Regions from separate parts of the Homo sapiens genome. Here region 2 is linked to region 1. Evidence: promoter capture Hi-C in 16 types of primary human blood cells and fetal thymus (Javierre and others, 2016). All regions are on one chromosome and are shown on one strand. The core of a region is centred on a gene start or on the middle of the fragment in contact, and the rest is flanking DNA. Distances in the headings are between cores, read along the strand shown.

Region 1 (5,401 bases), core at 2,757-5,256:
GAGCTGCCAAGTTGCTCTCCGGAGACAGCCCCAGGCAAGACCTCTAGACCAGCGCTCCACACTTACCCAGTGCACGCGTTAGAACCACCGCTAGGGGCGCCAGTCCGCCGGGCTCCTCGCTCCTTTCCCTCTTCCCCGCCTGCCCGCCTTATCCAACTTCTCAGACTCCCGCCAGAACTGCTTTGCCAGAACTGCCCTAAGGGGCAGTTCCCTCTGGGAGTAACTGCAGTGTCTCCTCAATCAGCTCGTCAGACACAGTAAGCCACGCTCCTAGCCTTTACCCTCCCTCCATAAGCTGCAGTGCTAATAGAAGAAAACAGACTGTCTAACCCTGCCCTTTTGCCAGAGGAGGGCATATTTCTCATAAAACAAACTATTTAAGCCCACAAATGAAGGGGTCTTGTCTTAGCCTTGGAAGCATCCCCTCTCCTGGCATTGGGCCCAGGCAGGCCCAACCTCTTTCTCCAGTTCCCCTTTCACACACAGAAAGTCCCATGTGGCAACTGGGGGCCACCTTCTGCCTTTGGGAACCCTCCCTCCCAGAACCGGCTGGGTTTTTCCCTTCATTGTCAACAGCCAGTCACAGATCCCCCAGACTTCTCCAGGGCAACAGGAGCCACTTTATAGTAGGCAAGTCACTGCTAGGACACTAAAGGCCAGGCCACTCAAGGGGCACAAGATGTAAAAGGAGATACCATGGACCCAAGGATCCCTCCAGGAGGGGACAATTTGCCCTTTGGGGGGTCTGAGGCACAGGTGAGGAGCAATAACAAGCCGAGAGGCAGCAGGTGGAAGTCAAGGAATCAACAGCCCCGCTGATCACTTTGGGGGAAGGAAACAGCAAAGGGCAGGTTTGGGGAGGGAAAGTCCCCTCTTTTCCCCCAGTCTCTATGGGAGGAGTCTTGAGGCTGAGAGCACTCACCATAAAAGAGTCGCTGGGGTTCCTCAGTCACCCCACAAGGCAGCATGACACCTTGGCTGGGGGAGGCTGGGCTGAGAGTCTGGGTAGCTTTGTCTTCCTGGCTGGTGGGTCGAAGGCCAGGGCCACAGCAGTGGGTGAGAGGGAAGAGCTGAAGTCGGCTGAGGGGGCAGTCCAGTAGGCTCTGGGCAAACAGGTCAGCAGAGAGCAAGCTCCCGGGTTGGGTCACCGGCTCCCCATCCTCTGGTTGGAACACATCATCCTCCAGCTCCTCCACACACTGAGATGGCTCCATCTCTCCTGTGAGGGGGCAACGCAGGCATCTGGGCTGCTGCCCCACCAGGGCCATACCTGGAAGGACTCCCCTTCCCTTCTTCCTACCATACTCCCCCTTCTTATTTGAGCTGGCCGGACCACATACTGATGACATACAACCCTGGTAATAAAGCACTGCTAAGGGTGACATTCACTCCCCAAATGTGGACTGCCTGAATGTTCAGGGGCTCTCCACACCTCTTCCCTGGGCCCGCCTGGAACCACCCTTTTTCTTGATCACGTTTTCTGACCTAGGCCGGTCACAAAGTTTGACTCTGAGGGTTGTGAGCAATAGCAGGAGTAGAATCAGCAGCTATATGCATGCAGGGTACCTGGGAAAATATAAACAAGACTAGCCTCTGTAAGTTGCTGTCAAGGGTGCTGTGACTGGCTATACATACAGTGCTCACAACACACACACACACACACACACACACACACACACATACAGAGTCATTGTCCCAAGGAAATTCTTATCTCAGTCTGAGCTGAGCTCCAGGCTCAGCAGCAAAAACAAAAGCCAGCAATCCTAGGACAGCCAGGTTCCCTCCAAACCTCTAAGCCCCGCCCTGCTGCCCATCTACTCTAATCTCCACCCCTTGCTTGCACAACACAACAAACAGGCTCTGCAGTGTGGTAAGAATGTGTCCTGGGAGAGGGGATAAAGACCCAAGCTAGTCATTGCAGCTGCCGTCTCGGCTCTCTTTGAGCAGAGTTGAGCTGTCTGCCCACCAAAGTTTGGCCTAGAGGGTAGGTCCAGCCTCTCCCAACTAAGTCTCCTCACTAGTCTCCACGACTTCAAATCCCTGATTCCACAGCCTCCCGCTCCTGCCAGCTCTGAACCTGAGACTGGTACAACTGGTCTTACAGAAGGAAGTGAAATTCAGCCCTCTCCCTGTGACCTCACTCACTGCCTATACTGCTGAAGTTATTGATATGAGTTTCTTGGTGATAAAGAAGTTCCTCTTGCTCCACCTGATGGCTCTTGAAAGTCTGAGCTTGGAGCTACTCAGCATCTTAAGCTTCCAACCCAGCTCCCTACACATACCAGGAACTGCTTAGGGCCCCTGCAGCAGCCAGAAGCAGCAACCACCTGAACAGCTAAGGATAAAAAGAGATGAATTTCATTCTTGTCAGACTCAATTAGAGATTCCTGGGGGTTCTGTCCCCTAGTCTCTTGCCTTTGAAGAACAAGCCAAATGGTCTATGGATTGGTGAAGTAGCTAAAAGAATCTCAGTTCAATTCAGAATGCTGCCTTTGCCAAACACAAGCTGTGAGCTGCTTGCTTGGGCCCTGCCTTCGTCCCATCCCATCCCTGTCCCTGAGCTGTCTATGGTCCTGTCTGTGCCCTCTTCCCTGGAGAATGAGGAGATGCCTGCTAGGATGGCAAGCAGCCACGTGGTGTTCTTTGGACCGTGTTTCCCAAGTGTGTGTGTGTGTGTGTGTGTGTGTGTGTGTGTGTGTGTGTATGGGGAGGGGGGTGAGGTGGTGCACTCCAGCTTATTAACAACAGGAAACAAAATTTCCTGATGAAAGGACCAAGTGCTGTCCCGCCAGTCACCTGGCAGGGGCTCCCCTCCAGCTCTCCAACCTCCTCTTCTCAGGCTAGCAATCTTGACCTAAGAAGGGGCCCTCAAAGCCAATCACCAGCACGAGTCATTGTCTTGGTTTTTCCTTTGAAGCCTATCACCTTCCCCTCCCCCTCCCAGCAAAGCCCCAAAGTTCAACCTTTGCCTGGACTGGACAGTGGGGGAGGTGCAGCCAGAAGGTGTGGCTCTGCAAGCCCCAGGGACCCCTCTCACGCTCCACAAACTGTAGGTGGCTTGCCTGTAGGTGGGCGCCTCTGGAGGGGTGCTGGCCAAGGTCAAGGGTAAACTAAGAGAGGGTGAAATTTTTCTCCTGAGCTTAAGAGGTGATGTCCAGAGCGGTGGGAGGAGGAGGGCACTTCCTGAGAACAGGGCCAGGGAATGCTTTATTCCTAGCAAAGGAACTCAAGCCCCGCTGCAGCCATCCCAACCCCTAAGGGCTGGAAGAGGGATGCTGAACTTAGACTCCTCCTCCTCTTAGGAGAAGGCAGTAGTCAGACACCCAGATCCTCGACAGTGACTAGGAACACACACACACACACACACACACACACACACCCCAGACCTGGGTGACTCCAGGAGAGAGTCTCGGCCTCCGAGTCGTGATGCCAGGGCTCCGCGCCAGGGTCCAGCGTGACGAGCACTCGGGGGCTGGACGCCCAGACTCGATTGGGAAGGAGGGAAAAAGCCCAGCTGTTAAGGAGAGGAGCCTTCAGACTCCGCAGAGAGGCAGGATGCCCCACAGCTCCTGTCCTATCCCAAAGTCAGACCCAGAGGCTGGGCCGTTCTCGGGCGCCCAGGTCTGCTCAGCAGTGCACCCCAGGTTCCCCTGCCTACCTGGACCCAACTCCTTCGAGTCCCAAATGCTACCCCCAAGTTCCCTCTTGGAGCAGCGCACCCAACTGTGGGTTCTGCACCCCGTTCCCTCACCCCAGCGCCCCAGTTCTTCATGGTCACCCCAGACGTCCGCAGCCCAAACCCTTCCCGGGCCCCCGTGCGCAGCGCGACTCCGCTCCCCACTTCCCCAAGGAGCTGCGATCCAACTCCGCCCGGCCCCCGGCGGCCACCCGGGCGCTCACCGGGCTGCGGCAGGAGGCGGGAGGCGCAGGCAGGGGCGGCGGCGGCGGCGGGCACAGGCCGGGGCGGGAGGAGGCCACTCCGCACGGTGCGGTATTGTTTCCAAAATACGCCTGCTCGGGGCATCCCGCAAACAGCTGATGAGGCCCCGCCCCCCTGCGCGTCACGCCGAGGACTGACCAATGGCGAGTGAAGCGCCAAGTCCCGGGCTGGGCCGCTGCCAGGGACGGTCACGAATGTACGAACCTTCCCATGGAAACATTGCAAGGGGCCGAGCAAAATTCCGACCGTCGCCAGAAGCGCAGTCGGAGCGCCGTCGCCAGTGCGGATTCTGTCCCTAACACAGGCTCTGGAAGCGCCAGAGAGTCCCTGAATCCTCTGTATTAGGTGTGGGAGAGGGGGCGCCAAAGTAACTTTTGTCTTCTTTTTCACGGCAATGGGCAGAATAATTGCTGCGCGTCCACAAAGGGAGGGGGGAAGGAGGCGGGGAGTTTTTTTATGAGGCTGGTGCGTCCAGTGGGTGCAGGGTGCAGGGTGCGGGTCCCTATGGGATCCCAGCCTCAGGGGAAAGCTCCCTCCCGCCTGCCGAGCAGGTCGGAAGAAAACTGCAGCTCCAAAGCTGAAGGTGTGTTTGAAACAAACACATCCAGGGGAGCCCTTAGGTCCTCTTCTTGACTGGGCGTGGGCACTGGCAAAATAAGCACCTGGCTGAGAAGCGGAGCGCTCAAGAAGGCCGGGGCTGCTTGAGCGGTTGACACATATCTCGCATATGGCAGCATTTAGAGACTGTGCTGGTGCTGCCAGGAGAGCAGCATGTCCTGCAGACCGCGTAAGGGAGTCTATGGGCTACTTCACAGGCATTTACCGAGCACCTACTCTGTGCCAGATATTGGGCTGAGTGCCAGAAACCTGGCGTCTGCCCTCAAGGAGCTTACAGTCTACTAGGAGAGGTAGCCCTGAAAATAGTGAAAAGTTATTGGAATTGTATTCATTCCAAGGATAATGACTATTGAGGAATGCAGAAAAATTCAGAATACAAAGGCTGGAGAAGGCCTCAGGGAGACAGCTTTTAAATTGAATGGGAAATATTTTTCAATAAGGAAAACCAGATGCACATGTCTCACGCCTGTAATCCCAACACTTTGGGAGGCCGAGGCGGGTGGTTCACTTGAGCTCAGTGGTTGGAGACCAGCCTGGCCAACACGGGAAACCCTGTCTCTACTAAAAATACAAAAATCAGGCGGGCGTGGTGGCGCATGCCTGTAATCCCAGCTACTTGGGAGGCTGAGGTAGGAGAATTGCTTGAACCTAGGAGGTGAAGGTTGCAGTGGGCGGAGATAGCGCCACCGCACTCCAGCCTGGGCGACAATGAGACTCCGTCTCAAAAAAATAAAAATAAAATAAAATAAAAAAGAATAGCCCAGGCCTAAGGGTAGCAGACTGAAGTGCTGAGCTGGAGAGCTTACCTGTGCAGGGAGCAGAGGGAGGCTTGGTGACTGGATC
Region 2 (4,898 bases), core at 2,125-4,624, 250 kb after region 1:
CCTGATGTCAAGTATTTGCTCCTGACGTCACATACTACACTCCCATTTGAGGGTTGAAAAAAAATGAATGTACTGTATGTTCACTGGGCCCATTCTGGGGTTGTCCATTGTGACTTGCCAGCCCCAAGCAAGACATGGCCAGCCTTGGCACCACGTTACCTCAGCAGCTCCATCTCATGACAGCACGGCTTGTTGGTGAATGACAAGTTGGCTCAGACTCCAAGCTCCCACCCCCTTCCAATCCTGGTGGGAGGAGACAGGTACAAGCAGCTAGGACCCCATGGAAGGCTTTCCATTCACTTGAGCCCCAGGGCAAAAATCCATTCACTTGTGCCCTCAGGGGCCACCAACCCCATTCCTGTCCTAGCAAACCATCCTTCCCGTCCCTGCACTGGGCACACTGATAGCTCCAAGCTTCCTGCTCCCATGCCATGCCAGATGTTTACACAAGACAAGAGTCTGTAGGGACAAGCATACCATGACCTGGCACAGGGCAGACACACAACATGAATAATTAGCAAATGAACGGATATTGAAATCTTCCCAAGAGGAATCGGATTAACACACAATTGTTGAGTCTAGGGGGGCAAGTGTAAGAGTATGGGGTGTAGGGGCTGGTACATGGTGCTGTTGTGTCTCCATCTACCCACCATGTAGGTGAACCCGCTGTGTCCATTTAACCCCCATGCCTGGCACCTACAGTGCCAGCTCTATATTGGGGCCAAGCTAAGCCGGAGGGAGCAGTTTTTTCCCTTTCTTCCTTTGAAGGGTGTGTGTGTGTGTGTGTGTGTGTGTGTGTGTGTGTGCGCGCGCGCGCGCATCCGTGGGAGGGAGAAAGGAAAGACTGCAATTTAGATTACAGTAAATTAAAAGTTACCTTTTGAACACAGGTATTCCCTGCTCTTACTCCAAAAAGATGGACCCAGGTAAGCACTGTGGCTGAGAGGCTGGGAATTGGAAGAAGGGAGAGAGCAGGAGAGCGGTAAAGGCAGGGACTATCAGTCAGCCATAACTAGTGCGTGCCAAAAATGTACGTGCGTGTGTGTTTGTATGAAGGCAGTGGTAGGGGTCCACAATGAAGACAAGCCCTTACATACTGTAGAACATGTTACAGTTTAAAAAGCATGCTTACTCATCATGTTCTTAGGTGCTTCTAAGGGTAGGTGCTTCTCCCACCGCACACTCAAGGCCCAGGGGAGCTAGGGGTTATGCTCAGGGAAAGGCCATAGAGGTGCAGCTGGGTCGGAATCCAGAATCCAGTTCTTGGGAGCTGTGCCATCGGCTTCCCTCGAAATGAACAAAAGACCGTCCTAGCCTTTAAGAAGTAGCAGGTGATTCCCACACCAATGGGGCACTTCAGAACATGCAGGACCACTCAGGTGGGTGCTGCAGGAGCCCAGTGGACCCACAGCTGGGCAGCCTGGATGGCTCCCATGTGGATTTCCTGCATGAGGGCAACACGCAGCTGCTCCAGGGAGATTTCCAAGTGGGAGGAGGCATGAGCAAAGGCCAAGAGCTGAGAACAGAAGGTCATAAACAGGAGACAACAAACAGCTCTGAGAGGCTGAGCAGAGATTGGGCCGAGATACGTGGGGCGTGACAGGGGCAGAGGACAGATGGGGAGGTTGGCAGGGCTGCTGGCCTGGAGGTAGAAGCAAGAATCAGGTGGATGACAGGGTTGGCCACCATGGAGCACCTCCAGGCTGACAGAGTTGAGACAAGAACCCATACCTCCTAACTGGCGCCACTCCACCCAGGAGGACTCAGCCAGCCCTTGAGCACACAGGGACACACTGCTGAACCTTATATTGACTTCCAATATGTATCTTTGCTGAGAGAATGAATGAAGGAATGATTGTCAGGCAAGTGACCATGTCTGAGAGGCCCTGTTGGGTTAGGGGTGTGGGCACAAAATCCTTAGTGCCAGGGAGAAGACAGGTTTTTTTTTACTGCAGAACCAAATGACCAAAGCTGCTTCTTTTTTTTCCCTTCCTCTCCCACAGGTCCGAAGGTAGGAAAGTTCCCCCAATGGTCTCCCCTTTTTCCTCCCACTGTCATGTCCTCCAGACCCCTAGCCTCCTTCCTAGACCCTCAGGGAGCAGCCACCACTTCCCCCAAATGAAAAGAAGGGAGCAGGCTCAGGCAGCAGCCCCGTGGAGTGGGGGTGGGGTGGGCAGCGCTGCACTCCTCCACCCCCTGCTGGCTGCAGCCTTCTTGGCGTTCTCTCCTCTGTTTTCCCATCTGTCTCTCTCCTTTCCTCACGTCCCCTCCCTGCCCTAGCAGCCCATCCTCTCTCCTGCTGCTTCCCCGCCTGTGCTATGCTTTTCTGCTTTCCTGGCTACCCCCACAGCCTTGCTGGATAGCTGGCTTGCTCCCAAACTCCAACCACACTATGGGGCCCCTAGGACCTACTCCTGCCAGAGAAAGGAGACTGCGTCTCCTCCACCTCTTCTCACCCACTGGCTACCACCAGCAGACTCAGTTCCTAGGCCTGGTCTGTGTGCCAACCCCCAAACAAAAGAGCCATAGGCAGAGAGGCAGGTGGGGTGGGAAGTGGCTGTTTCCAGGCATCACTGAGCCTGGATGGGGCAGGGGCTGCTCTACCATGGTCACAGGAAAGCGCCCAGCCCTGGAGCCTGCCTCTTCCCCACTGGTACCAAGCCCTAATCAAGCCCTAGGAGGCAGAAGGAGACTGGGGAGTTATCCAGCCCAGACAGTGGGAGCATAGCCCCGCCCTGCTCCACAGGGCCCCAGACCCCGAGTCCCCTACCACAGAAGCAAGGTGGTATCTCTTGCCTGCCCCCTGGGCTTGTGGCAAAAAGTTAAAAAAACAAAAAAAAAACAAAAAACTCCCCTGGCCTTGGGACTTCAGGAATGATTCCAGCCAAGATGGAAGGTTAAACCACACTTTTTCCAGACCTCTTCTGACTGAGGCAGAAAAGCTTTGATTTTACTTTCTATTCTTCCTGATTTCTTGGGTCTGGCATCCGCTCAGGAACAGGTATGAGCTCGCACATACTCATGTACACAGAACCATGCACTCCATGCACGTATCTGTGTACATACCAAGCTTGAATATGAACCCACCCATGCACACGTACACAAACATAGCTATTTTATATAAATATGGCACACACCGTCTACACACATACACACTACCTATAAAAAGAATACATACATCCTCACCTTGCCACCTCCTACCCTCCGTGTCTTCTCATCCTCCAACTGTCTTCCTTCTTCCCCTCCTCAGCTCTTTCATCTCCCCTGACCCAGCCTCCTGTCTCCCCCTGCCCCTGGCCTTCAAAGAGCTCTTCTGTAGCCTCCTCTAGCCTCACCCTTGCTCCTAAGTACAATGAGCCTGCAGTTCCTAGCATGGCAAAGCCTCTAATCACTCTGCAAGGGTTCCTGGGTGAGAGAAAGGAGAAGATGAAATAATTCTGCTTCTTAGTTGCAAATAAAATAAATCGAGGTACAGGGAGCGGGAGTCATATCTTGGCTCAAAGAATAGAAACCAATAAATCTAGGTTGCTTGCCTTTTATCTGCTCAGTGTTCTGGCCTCACCAAGGCAAAAGGCACGGGACATGCTACCCATGCCCCCAGCCCTCCACCGCAACTCCTTACTTGCCTAGAAATCCTGAGTCCCCCAGGGAAGTGGAGTGAGGGAGAGCTGATCTCAGGTAAGCTTAGCCCTGACCTCTGACTCTGACATTGTTCATTTGACTTTCCACAGGGGCACTGCCACTGTGGGGGGCATGGCCATCCTCCAGGTCACTGCGGGCCACCCCCTGGCCATGGCCCAGGGCCCTGCGGGCCACCCCCCCACCATGGTCCAGGGCCCTGCGGGCCACCCCCTGGCCATGGCCCAGGGCCCTGCGGGCCACCCCCCCACCATGGTCCAGGGCCCTGCGGGCCTCCCCCTGGCCATGGCCCAGGTCACCCACCCCCTGGTCCACATCACTGAGGAAGTAGAAGAAAACAGGACACAAGATGGCAAGCCTGAGAGAATTGCCCAGCTGACCTGGAATGAGGCCTAAACCACAATCTTCTCTTCCTAATAAACAGCCTCCTAGAGGCCACATTCTATTCTTTAAAGAGCCTGTCTTCCTTCATATCCAACCTGGCTGTCAGAGGACCCAGTTGTCTCCAAGCTCCCTAGTTGTGAAGATGGGGCAACCATCCTGGCATTCTCAGAAGCTTAATGCCATGGTGCTCACTATAAATGGCTGTGTAAGGTCACCTCTCCTTTCCTTTTCACTCCTGTGCCCTCCCATCGAGGAACTTCAAGTGTGGCCTCATTACCTCTATGCCATCCTGTACATCCAGATCTGGTGGGCCTTCCAAGGTTGCAGCTTGCATGCCTCACTCTACAGACCAGAAGCCTCCCTCCAATCCAGATGGTTTCTCACCATTCCCTTAAAATACACTGAACTTTCCAGCCCCCTTACCTTTGTTTGCACAGGTAAGGAAGAATGCCCCCACCCCAGGTCAGGAAGGCCTTCCCTCTCTCCTACCTCCACATTTCAAAGCCCACCCTTTCTTCCAAGCCAGCTGAAGCCCCACCATCTCCAAGAAGCCTTCTCTAAGGCCTATTAGGAAGAAAGAGGTCCTTCCTTTTTGCATACTGTCCCCTTCTCAACCACCTCATGGGCCTCACCATATCTTGCCTATTGGCAGCAATTTATGGGCTGGCCCTTTATCTCTCCAACCAAACTATAAGCTATTCAGGGCAGACCCAACACTTCTACACCTCTAGATTCTTCCACCCCATTTCTTATGACCTGTGTCTTACACGGACTGGCATTGGCACACATTTTAGGGATACCTATAGTCCAAGTGTTCCTGACTCTCTCCTCAGCCCCATGTCTTCAACCAAGGCCTCTCCCTGCACAAGTAACCA

Evidence for each region. The method cuts DNA at HindIII sites, captures the fragments that hold promoters and counts their contacts. A CHiCAGO score of 5 or more calls a contact.
Region 2: a contact is called between a fragment that was not itself captured here and the fragment with the promoter of BMF in region 1, in 1 of 17 cell types (total B cells). The highest score is 6.0, in total B cells.

What each region holds. Positions count from the first base shown.
Region 1 is chr15:40,104,873-40,110,273 of GRCh38, forward strand. BMF (Bcl2 modifying factor) reads right to left here and starts at 4,007. Exons shown (of 5, transcript NM_001003940.2): 1 at 3,901-4,007; 2 at 3,387-3,514; 3 at 923-1,219. The coding sequence starts at 1,214. RefSeq lists silencers at 28-220, 2,036-2,330, 3,815-4,064 and enhancers at 720-769, 990-1,039, 2,610-3,305. The HindIII fragment of the contact is 6,207 bases long and covers 2,255-5,401 here.
Region 2 is chr15:40,352,342-40,357,239 of GRCh38, forward strand. It overlaps PHGR1 (proline, histidine and glycine rich 1), which reads left to right. Exons shown (of 4, transcript NM_001145643.2): 2 at 891-926; 3 at 2,004-2,011; 4 at 3,732-4,093. The coding sequence starts at 917. The coding sequence ends at 3,962. Among named protein-coding and RNA genes, the nearest start is that of DISP2, 3.4 kb to the right of the region's middle. RefSeq lists an enhancer at 2,063-2,588. The HindIII fragment of the contact is 613 bases long and covers 3,069-3,681 here.